Linked DNA regions of Homo sapiens: all the other regions are linked to region 3. The links are contacts of gene promoters, found by promoter capture Hi-C in blood cells and fetal thymus (Javierre and others, 2016). All regions are on one chromosome and are shown on one strand. Each heading gives the region's core, a stretch centred on a gene start or on the middle of the fragment in contact. The rest is flanking DNA. Distances are from core to core; before and after follow the strand shown. Region 1 has its middle 30 kb from the start of RBMXL2. Region 2 overlaps NLRP14 (NLR family pyrin domain containing 14). Region 3 holds the start of NLRP10 (NLR family pyrin domain containing 10). Region 4 has its middle 6.9 kb from the start of RBMXL2.

Region 1 (2,974 bases), core at 295-2,794, 850 kb after region 3:
TAAGTCCACATTGTTTTTAATCATTCTCTTGTTTTATGACAAATCAAGATATTTTGGGCTCATCTTGTACTTTCCTTGCCCCAGCCCTGGAATTAAACATTTCTCTAAAAAGTCTTTGTTTCTCTTATTGGAGAAACATACATATATAAGTCCAGATCTGGACACTATGTGTGTTCTTTGCTGCTGGGGCTCCATTGCTTTTAGGCTGTCTCAGCAGAAAAAGCTAGAAAATATAGAAAATGTACACACACACACATGTATCTATCTACACATGCACATACAGGGCTATGTCCTTTTCCTTTCTTTCACTCTCTCTCTCGTGTGTGTGTGTGTTTGTGTGTGTGTATAATATAAATATATATCTCTCTCAAGAGTTCATCATACTGGTATCTCCAATTCTGATGGAACACCATTCTGTTCTAATTTTCACCCTTTAAATTATTGAATATCCTTTCTCTTACAGTGAGAAACTTGGCTCCCGTTACTTTTGGCCATTTCCTTTATTTATAAACAATGCCTTTTTAGCTCCAGCCCCACAGGATCCATTAGCCAATGCTGTCTCCTAGGCCCTAAATGCCTCCTCCACCCAGGCCTTGCAGTCTCGCAGGAATAGACATTTTTGCAATTAAGCATCAGAAGAGTAAGAACAATAATGTAAACAGACCAGGGCCTTAGAACTGCCGTGTTGGTGGAACATGTGAGTGATAATCCAAGGCTGCATAAGGTTCAGTGTACATACAAAAGATGGAGGGGGTGGTTAGGAAAGACTTTATGTATAAGCTAATCACTGTTCAGCCCTTAAAATTATATCTGGCAAAGAGAAGAGACAGAGAAGGTACAGGTAGAGTGCACAGCACGAACAAAGATATGGAGGTATGAAACAGATTTTTCTATTCAGAAAATTTTAAGCAGAAGACAAAACCTGCAGAGAGAACTGCAATGAGAGATAAAGCTGTACAATATGCAGGATACAAGCTTTATACATTATTTACAAAAATGTTTAAAAGTTATTCAATAGTTAATGGGGAGCTATTGTCTAGTTTTAACATGAGAGATATTTTAGTTCTAAATGTGAGTTTTTAAAATGCCACTTTGTCTGAAGCATTGAGATTAAAATTGAAATGGGGCTACACTGAAGGTGGCAAATAGTTAAAAGACTGCTGTGATATATCAGGGAAGGGATCTAGAAGGCACTGAACCAAGGCAATAGCCATGTGAATGGAAATAAGAAGGTGGATGCAGAAGTGTTAAGGAGATAGAATCAATATGTTTTAATGATAATTAGAGATGGAGAACGTGGAAAAACTTGAAACATACAGGGACATCTATGATCCCTGCATAGGAGACTGAGATCATGGTAGTAACATTCACTGGTAGAGTATAGAGAGGGTGTTTTAGAAAGAAGATGATGAATTCAGCTTGTGACTTCTTGAGTCTCTCTCTTAGCCAGCTCAGGCTGCTATAACAAATTACCATCGACTAGGTGGCTTGAAGAATAAACATTCATTTCTCACAGTTCTGGAGACTGGAAGTCTAAGATCAGAGTGCCAGTATAGTTGGGTTCTGGTGAAGGCCCTGTTCCAGGTTTACAAATGCCCATCTTCTAATTATATCCTCAAATAGCAGAAATAGGTATCACCTCCCTTGTGTATCTTCTAATGAGGGTACTAATCCCACTCTTGAGGGCCTCACCCTCATGACCTAATTACCTCCCAAAGACCCTCCCCCAGTACCACTGCACTGGGGGTTGGGATTTTTCAATGTATGAATTTCGGAAGGACACAGACATTCAGTCCATAACCATGTGAGTTGCCTGTTGTATATCCAGTAAGATATATGAACTGAGCAGTAGGTCTGACGCTCCCAATTGAACAAGACTGAAGATAAAACTCTGAAAGTCACTAGTGTATTAGTGGTAGTGGAAACTGCAATAATCGATTATACAACCTAGAGAATTTTGTTCTGTGAAAAGAGAAGAGACAGCCGAGAACAGATCCTGAAAACAAAAACATCCAAGGGATGCCTAGAAGACTTGAAGACTTGCAAAACAGCCTATGAGAAAATGATTGAAGAATGAGAGGAAGAAGCAAGAATGTTCAGAAGCCAAGCTTATGGGAGTGACTTCTTGCTTTAAGTCACTTTTGAATAGCTCCCCACAATACAGCTTTCTCAATTAAAAATAGCCAAACAAACAAAAGGGAAGAAAAATGTACATTCAGTGACAAAAGCCTAAAATTAAAACCAATTCCTAATAACATCAGAATCTTTTAGGAATCTCCCACTCCATTCCTTAACACTCTCATGCTTTGTCTCATACCATTGAGGCTCTGAAAGCATGAGTGGAAACTAATATATAATTCATAATCAGCTAAACTACCCACAAACTACTCCATGACCACCTTCCTCCTGGCACATTTTTGTGTATATATATATATATATATATATATGTCTTCATCTCATCCATCAAGCTGCTCCCTCCACCACCCATCTGCAAGGTTTTCTCATCATCCATGTGTGTACCTTTGATGCACCCTCCTCAAAGTTTAATGTGCACTGAAATCAAGTGGGGATCTTGTTAAATGCATTTTAATTATAGGTGGAGTCTGAGATCCTGCATTTCTAACAAGCTCCAGCTGATACATCACTGCTGATCTGAGGACCACACTTCGAGTAGAAAGGATTTTTCTCACATCTCCACCTGTTTATAACATACATTCTTATATATGGTCTCTCAATCTCTGCCCTTTTATTTCCCCATTGATGCCTCTTTCAACGTTACTATGCCCTCTACTCCTTTCTGCTGATCCACTATGCATCTGTAGCTTTTATTCTGGCATTCAATAATGTTGTTATCTTCCTCACTTCATTCTTATCCTGTGCCTTAACTCGACACAATTCCTACTGCTCTTTCCGTTGGACTTTACTTTGCATTAGGAAAGCAAGCTGATTAAATGAAGCCACACTAGTGTGTTAG
Region 2 (3,086 bases), core at 483-2,982, 920 kb after region 3:
AGACAAAACAATTCAAAGCTTACCTGAGAGTCTGTAGTTTACACTCTGGGTGTTTCAAGGCCTCACACAATGACTTTACTCCATTATCCCCTATATCACTCCCTTTTAGGTCAAGATGCATCAGATTCTTGTTATGAATCAAAGAAGTAGAGATATCCTGACAACCATCAGGGAAAGTGATAAATTTCAACCTTCAGAAGAAAAATATGCAGGAGGTATTACAAAACCATTTCTCTCCTTGGTTACAGGATCCCTTTCTTTTCAATCTAATTCTTGGATATTACATGAATATTCTTTTATCTTATTTTCATCTAAAACAATTGGGTTATAACTTCAATTTCTATTTATGACCTGATAATTGACACTCCCCAGTTTTTTTTACCTTAACGGAAAAGAAGGTGATAACATCATGAAAAGCAGAAGAGGAGCCTCTTTAACTTGTAATCCCAGGAATGACTATCAAAAATTATCAGGGCCATTCCAAGTACTACAATAACATTAATTCACAATAGCCAAATCTTTAAATAATCCAAGGTTAATTCAAAATTAGCATCAACTGTCTGATGTGCAGTAATAACAAAACGCTGTTGCAAAACATGCTGTGCCATCTTGGGGACTTCGTTAGGCATACGGAGGCAGGTGTACGGAGGCAGCCCAAGCAAAATATTATGAAGTTAAATCTGCCAATTTTTTTCCTACTTTCTACCTCCTAACTCAGTCAATGTCAGATATTTCTGATTCTTCTATAGTGTCTCTGCTAGTCCCCAATGCCCTTCTGTTCACTGTCCAAAACCTCGCTTTGTAACACCACCTTTCCTCCTTTCGGCCCACCACCCACCCTCCACCCTCACTCCCCTCACCCCAGGCAAGTACACACAGGAAAATAAAGCCTTTACCCATTTATAGCACTAACCATCCTCATCTAGTAAAAGTGCCTAAGGCACTCAGTAAACATAAATGGCACCATCTCACTTATTAGGAAAAAGGGACCACAGTAAGACAGACCACATTAAGGTGGCACAGACTGAGAACAGTCATCATGGTGTCATCCCACTGATGCAACCCTCCCATTCTAAGAAAGGAAGTCAGTTAACCAAGAAGGCATTGGCTATTGTGAAGATCCGGATTGATGACATCCAATGAAGGGACAATATGGGGGAAATGTTTAGGGATGAGTGGAAAGGACTTCCAGGAACCCCGTAATCATAACATACATCTAGTTGTCTTACTACATCTATATGTAAGACCAAGCCTACTCTAGATGCTTGAAATCTAAGGTCAGAACTCACTAAAAACACTGAGATCAGGAGGAAAATATTTGGTGAGAAGCCTGTCCCCAGCCCCCACCCAAAAGAACATCTATTTTCAGTGCTAATGGAAACAAAGATCTATCATTTGTTCAGCATTCAGTTCATACTAAGCAACAAATGTACCTTGTACATATTGACAGGCACAAAATACAGAGATTAGGATCAGTTTCAGCTCCTAGTGGAGTCCTTACACAAAAAGGTAAGAGACATGTGAACAATCAACATTTTAAAGTGATTATCTAGAATCCAATTAAGATAAATTAAAATTTAAAAAAGACTGACAGCATCTAATGTTGGCAAAGATTACCCTTATTCCTAACAGGTTAGGGAAACCTCCAGGGGTCTATTAACAAGAGAATGAATAAACAAATTATAGTATAAGTATAGTTATACAATGGAATACTAATCAGCAATAAAAAAGAAACTACTAAAAGTTGCAACAAAATGGATAAATTTTAGAAGACATTTTGTTGAGCACAAGAAGATGGATATAGCCAGGTGTGGTGGCTCATGCCTGTAATCCCAGCACTTTGGGAGGCCAAGATGGGTAGATCACTTGAGGTCAGGAGTTTGAGACCAGCTTGGCCAACATGGTGAAACCCTGTCTCTACTAAAAATACAAAAATTAGCCAGGTGTGGTGCTGCGTGCCTGTAGTCCCACCTACTCGGGAGGCTGAGGCAGGAGAATGGCTTGAACCTGGGAGGCGGAGGTTGCAGTGAGCCGAGATTGTGCCACTACACTCCAGCCTGGTGACAGAGCAAGACTGTCTCAAAAAAAAAAAAGAAAAGAAAAGAAAGAGAAAGAAGATAAATTAAAAAAAATACATACTGTATAAATCAATCAAAATGATTCCAAAAAGATACAAAGCTGAACTCTGGTGACAGAGATTAGAAAATGATTGTCTCTGGGAATGGATGGGGTGAGAAGATTGAACAGAAAGGGATAGGCTGGACATTGTGGCTCATGCCTGTAATCCCAGCACTTTACGAGGCTGAGGCAGGAGGATCTCCTCAGCCCAGAAGTTTCAGACCAGCCTGGGCAACACAGTGAGACCACATCTCTACAAAAAATTAAAAAAAAATAGCCTGGCATGGTGGTACATGCCTGTAATCCCAGCTACTTGGGAGGCTGAGGTGGCAGGATTGCTTGAGCCCAGGAGTTCTAGCTGCGATAGCATCACTGCATTCCAGCCTGGACAACAGAGTAAGACCCTGTCTCAGGAAAAAAAAAAACGAAAGGGGTACAAGGGACCTTTCTGAGATAAATGAAAATATTTTCTATCTTGTTTTGGGTGTGTTGGTTATAAAGATGTTTACACTTGTCAGAACACAACAAACTGAACATTATTTGTGGACTTTGTTAAATGCAAATTTTTCCTCAATAGAAAAAAATTTAAGAGGATAGTAAGTTCCAGAACATGTCCTTGAAAGTGCATTGGTGACCTGCCTAGAATGTTTTAGCTCTGTGCTCTTCATTTAGAAAGTTCCTAATCAAGCCTGAAAAACCCATGTGAACAGCTACTATGCCCTGTGGAATCACTCTGAGAACCAGTTAGTAATGATCCCATGTCCCCAGAGGATTCCATTGTTCCTGTTTATTTTACAAAATGGATTGTAAGTATTTGTTTAGCATTGGCTTCCCCTAACGAGTATGAGTGGAAGATGGGACACAGAAAGAAATTAGAATAACTCCATTAAATTTTCTCATACCAGACTTACAGTAGCTTTTGTAGTTTACAGTTTGGGTGCCTTAGTTCATGATGCAGGATATTCATT
Region 3 (2,925 bases), core at 426-2,925:
ATTCTCCATTCCCCCCTCTGGTGCTTGCCTTTCTCTTCTGCATTTCTAACCTGACCTCTCTATGGGAGGCTTTGTATCAGCATCCAGGTACATTCCTCCCTTTCCCATGTTAAAGCAAACAAAACCTTCTCTGGACTTCACATCTCCCATATTACCTCAGGACCTTTCTCATCACTTTTGTTACCAAGCTTCCAGAGAGATTTGTCTATACATGTTAACTCCATTTCTTTACCTCTTACTGTTTCTTTGCTAAGTTAATTTTTATCTTTTCAAAGTAATACATGGTTATGATTTCTAAAGTCAATAGGCATTAAAAAACTTATGCCCTGGAACAGTAGTCCTTTCCTCTCCTGATGCCCAGTCTCTTTTCGCTAAAACAACTATTAATACATTAGATTTTAACTATTTCTTCTTACATCTCTGCATTTTGAAGTAATATGTGTACTGTATATCACTATCTTTTGATTCAACATTTTAGGCATTGTCTATCAACTTCCTCTTCTAGTACATTCCACCACCATCCTTTCAATGTAATTATATTTTAAATTTTAGAGCAATGTTCAGTGGTTACACTATGATTTCTATGCAAACATTATTCACACTTGAGTATATTAGTTTACTATTATATTTCCAATTTTATTTTTTGTTTCTCCTCTTGCTAGTAATTTCTTTATTTTACTTTCATTTATCTGGTTTTCTTGGAAGTTACTGCTAGCTTTTTCCACCTTCTAATAGCCTCCCAATAGGCTGTTTTAGAAGGCCAATAGCATCAGCTAGTCTAGCAAGTCTTTTTTCTTTTTTCTTGGAGACATTCTTTTTGGAGAAACCTGTTCTCTTTCTGTCAGGGCTCTTGGGGATCCTCAGCTCTCTAGGCCAGAGGACTGGCTGCCTTCTGGGAATTTGTTTTTCTCCTTTTTCTTTTTTGTTTTTTTGAGACAAAGTCTTACTTTGTTGCCCAGGTTGGAGTGCAGTGGCACAATCTCAGCTCGCTGCAACCTCCGCCTCCTGGGTTCAAGCAATTTTCCTGCCTCAGCCTCCCTAGTAGCTGAGATTACAGGCATGCACCATGATTCCCGGCTAATTTGCGTATTTTTAGTAGAGACAGGGTTTCACCATGTTGATCAGGCTGGTCTCAAACTCCTGACATCAAATGATCCACGCACCTCAGCCTCCCAAAGTGCTGGGATTACAGGCGTGAACCACCATGCCTGGCCTGTTTTTCTCCTTGTTTGAATTCCTACTTCATGGAGCTCCTATCTTCTTCCTTTTTCATTCTCCAGTGATTTCAACAACTTAGAGAAATGGTGCACTGGCGGAGGATATGGTGGTGGCAGTGCTTCAATTCTTTCGTCTCTCTAGTCAAACTGCCCCAGCCTAGGCTGGGGTTAAGTGGTAGAGGAGGAGTGTGGGTTCCAGGGAGGGATGTGGGAAGTCTCCTGGGCTCTTTTTCTCTTGGTGACAGAATAGTTCATGCCTTCCACCCCTCCCTTGTTTCTCAACTTCAACATTTGAAAAAATGAGGTCAAGTTTCCCACTGGTGAGCAATTGCCCATCCCATTGACAGTCATCCCACTGACATTCAGTGGGTGGTTCTGCTTCACAGAGGCTTGGGGCAGATGGGGAGGGGCCCTTCTGTTCCAGGCCTATATACTAGGAACTGTTAGGTATCAAGCTGTAGCTGGTAGGTACCAGCACCACCAAACAGAAGTGAACTAGTGAGTATGGGCTAAGAGAGCCCAAACTTGGACCTGTAGAGCTGTCGGACCAGGAAAGGGGATCTGTTTCGTCTCAGTCCCCAGGCTTTGCTTACTGGGCTCCTGGATCAGGGAGCTGAGTTCTCGCTGCCTCACCTCCAGCTCCCCAAGTCTGAACTGTGGTAAGCAGCCTAGACTGGACATCTTCTTGGCAGGTTCTAGTGTTGTCTTTTCTTTCCTGAATTATTAAATAGCTCTGCCAACATCAGAAATTTGCAGGGAAGCCCTGAGTCTTCCCATGCAGCCTGAAGCTTTGTTGTAAATTGATCCTGCTTTCACAGGCCTGCTTTTCCAAACTGGCCTATGACTCACAACCAAAGTCCCCTGTATCCTAACATGTTCCAAACATTTTCTTTCTCTGTCAGTATGTAGTCAAAATGTTGGTATTTGAATGGCAACAACTCTCTGTGTTCCCAAATTCTCTTTTGAACACTCTCAATGATGAATGTGACATTGTACTACTGAGATGGGTTCCCTATGGGCCTTAGGTCACAGGTGTATTTCTGGATTCTGAAGGCTTTCTATTAATTGTTGCTTTTCTTTTCCAAAGACTGCCACCTGGCCTACATTTTGGTTCTACATTAGAAACACAATTCAAAACTCTGCTCTCCTTTCCCGTTACTTTAGTATTTATACATGTCTCCAGCTTCTGGCAACATTTAGCCTAACTTTCTGGTTCCTGACTCTGTCTTCTATTTCTTTATCTTTTGAGTTTTTTCTGTCTCTCTCTTCCACCCAGGGCATAGACCAGTTTAAATCCTGCCTCTTTGCCCGGTGGCCTAGCTCTGGAAAACTCTGAAAAACCATTTTTCTCTGACTGCCAAATTTCTCATGTGGAACAGTTCCTGAGACGATTTCTGAGATGATCAAAAAGGATATGTAAATCACCTGGCACAAAGTCAGCACTCACAGGTGGCGGTTCCTCTTCCTATCATTATCTGGATTTGTTTCCTTATTTGAATTAGGAGACTTCTAGCTTTGCAATCCCTGTGTGACTGAGGCCAGGAGGCTGACATGTGAGGCCAATGGGTTGAGTGTAGATTTTTTTTACCTTCTTGCCATACCACAGCAGTTCCAGCAAATGTGCTCCAGCTTTCTATAGGTTCACACAGCCAGGGACAGTCTCACTTTTAAAACTTAAAACTTGGCCGGGCACAGTAGCTCATGCCTG
Region 4 (2,700 bases), core at 157-2,656, 870 kb after region 3:
TTTATTGTGCACTTTATTTCTACTATTATTACATTGTAATACATAATGAATTAATTATACAACTCACCATAAGTAGAATCAGTGGAGGCCCTGGGCTTGTTTTCCTGCAACTAGATGGTCCCAACTGGAGGTGATGGGAGACAGTGACAGATCATCAACTATTAGACTCTCATAAGGAGCATGCAACCTAGGTCCCTCACATGTGCAGTTCACAATAGGGCTCATGCTCCTGTAAGAATCTAATGCTGCTGCTGATCTCAAAGGAGGTGGAACTCAGGTGGTAATGCAAGTGATGGGAGCGGCTGTAAATACAGATGAAGCTTTGCCAGCTCGTCCACCACTCAGCTCCTGCTGTGCAGCCCAGTTCCTGGCCCAGGAGTTGGGGATCCCTGTTATACTACATCAAGCTTTTAAAAACATGTCTCATAGTGCTATGTATCTCTCTTTCATAGTGCTTGTCATGGTTAAAATGTTGCTTTTTGTATGACAATTTAACCAGTCTATCTTACCTTTTGAACACTGTTCCATGTGAGGATTAACAATGTCTACTTTGGCTCACCAATATGTCTCCATTGCTTAGCTAAGAGACAAGGATTAATTTATCCAAAACTAATCCTCAGTAGATTGGCATCCTGGAAAGGATTGGCCTTCTGCAAATTTCACTGAAAGCTGCTTTTAGCCCATTTTTAATGCAGTCAATCATGGTCAGCTGCACAGCCTGGGCCACAGTTACCCCTGCAGCTATAATGTTAGTACATTCTCAATCTTGAATGCTGATGTAGCAAGTCCTGCCTCTAGTTTGCTTTGCTGCCATACAGCTTCAATTACAAGACTTTGACTCCAGCCCTTTACCACCTTAGATAAAAGTATTATTCACAAAAAACATGTTCTTCTCAGCCCCATTTATATTCTACTGTCTCTCCCTTCTCCAGCTGTTGACTGCAAGGTTCAGTGACCCATTGTCAACCTGTCTAGGGCAGACTGATGTTATTATCAAGTCCTCAACTCCTGCAAATCCACAACCACGAGCACTGAAGTGACAGGGTTATAGCTATTTCTGCCATGACATATTGCTATTATATCCTAACCCCTAATTATTCCAGGGTAGGGGCTGGAATCTCCTATATTATGCAACTCAAAAGCCCCACAGCCCAAATGTGGGAGTTCCTCTCCCAAAGCTGAAGTCCAGTCATGCTAAATCTCTGTGTATTCCCACAGAATGCATCTGGGCAACTAGCAAGTACTACTCCACTGTCTCTGTGAATCGTCCTTAATGAATATTAATCTGGCCAATAAGTATGATTGCATTCTTGTCCCTATTTTATAGATAAGGGAAAAAAACAAAGAGCAACCTGACCAAGATCATTCACTAACTGTGATCTTGGTGCTGCTTTTCTGTTTGCCTTAGTTGGCGTGATATTAGCACAGCGTTTGCCATTTGGTGGGTACTACATAAATAAAAATTAGATTCAATGAATAAATGGATAGATAGACAACCAATCTCATGAGGGGAGCATTCTTGACCCTATTTTATAGGTAAGGGGAAAAAAACACAAAGAGTAATTAAGTAACCCGACCAAGATCACAGTTGGTGAATGGTGGACACAGGATTTAAATTCAGGTCTACAAGATTACATATTACTTATTCTAAATTACTACACTCTTCAACTCAGAGATTTCTCTAGGTGCCCCAAAGCCTGAGTCAACTGTAAATAACAATAAAAACAGCTACATTTTTTAAAAATCTAGGCACTGCACTAGGCACTTTATTTCTGGGGCAAAATTGAGTCTAAGCCAATTATGCCAGAGAGCAATAATTCTAAACCCTAACAGATAAGAAGGAATCAAGCCTTTATAATAACATCAACCTGCTTTACTTCTGACTGGTTAGGAATGGGGCACTGAGCCCATGGTGGAAGTTCTGGTCCCCTCAACTGAAGAGGTGAAGAAGAAAGAGGCAGCAGAAAATTAATGGGGACTATAAAGAGTCAAATATATCTCCAAGATTTCAAGCTGGATGAGTGCAGCTTGAGTAAATACAATTAAAACTCTCAAGTGTACTTTTTCTGAAGACTTTTGAGTATAGAAGCAATTTTACTAGGAATATAAATGATAAATTCCAAAGGAAAGTCTGTGCTACTGCTTTGCAGAATGCCGTAATACTACCACTTAACGAACCCCACTGCATTCCAGGCACTGTGCTGGGTGCTGTATATGAGTCATCTTATTTAAAACTTCCATAAATATGATGAAACTGTATTATCACCACACATGAAAAAAACGGAAGGTCTAAAGTTTTAAGAAAGTTGTCCAAGCTACATGAATAACAGAATGAGAGCTTCTGCATATGATCAAAAGATTCTCTCTCTACTATAACAAGCAGCCTTCAAACCTGAGAAAGCTTTACTATTTCTTCCTACTGTTTTCTCTAAAATTTTCATAATAGGTCCTCATATTTTTTATTCCCCTTGAGCACTTTAATAAATATGATAGTGAGATGCATTCAACAAGGACATCATTGCTATGTCGTTCCTCTAATTTTCTGTGCTTGATATGTTCATTCAATGTCACTCACAAAATATTTATCAAAATCATTTTAAAATCATTCTTAGATGTGCTACACTGTAAGAGTAATTAGCTTCAGAATAAACTTCACCACAAATAGAACATGTAGGTTCTGAAAGAAATTGCCATGAGCAT

What was found. Contacts are between HindIII fragments. The CHiCAGO score rates a contact against its expected background, and 5 or more counts as called.
Region 1: a contact is called between a fragment that was not itself captured here and the fragment with the promoter of NLRP10 in region 3, in 1 of 17 cell types (M0 macrophages). The highest score is 6.0, in M0 macrophages.
Region 2: a contact is called between a fragment that was not itself captured here and the fragment with the promoter of NLRP10 in region 3, in 1 of 17 cell types (M2 macrophages). The highest score is 5.0, in M2 macrophages.
Region 4: a fragment that was not itself captured here is called in contact with the fragment with the promoter of NLRP10 in region 3 in 1 of 17 cell types (M0 macrophages); the score reaches 6.2 in M0 macrophages.

Annotation. Positions count from the first base shown.
Region 1 is chr11:7,117,934-7,120,907 of GRCh38, reverse strand. No RefSeq gene overlaps it. Among named protein-coding and RNA genes, the nearest start is that of RBMXL2, 30 kb to the right of the region's middle. The HindIII fragment of the contact is 1,133 bases long and covers 978-2,110 here.
Region 2 is chr11:7,046,776-7,049,861 of GRCh38, reverse strand. It overlaps NLRP14 (NLR family pyrin domain containing 14), which reads right to left. Exons shown (of 12, transcript NM_176822.4): 5 at 3,030-3,086; 6 at 24-191. Among named protein-coding and RNA genes, the nearest start is that of NLRP14, 28 kb to the right of the region's middle. The HindIII fragment of the contact is 3,423 bases long and covers 21-3,086 here.
Region 3 is chr11:7,964,197-7,967,121 of GRCh38, reverse strand. It overlaps NLRP10 (NLR family pyrin domain containing 10), which reads left to right and starts at 1,675. Exons shown (of 3, transcript NM_001391958.1): 1 at 1,675-1,876. The HindIII fragment of the contact is 1,817 bases long and covers 191-2,007 here.
Region 4 is chr11:7,094,543-7,097,242 of GRCh38, reverse strand. No RefSeq gene overlaps it. Among named protein-coding and RNA genes, the nearest start is that of RBMXL2, 6.9 kb to the right of the region's middle. The HindIII fragment of the contact is 1,994 bases long and covers 410-2,403 here.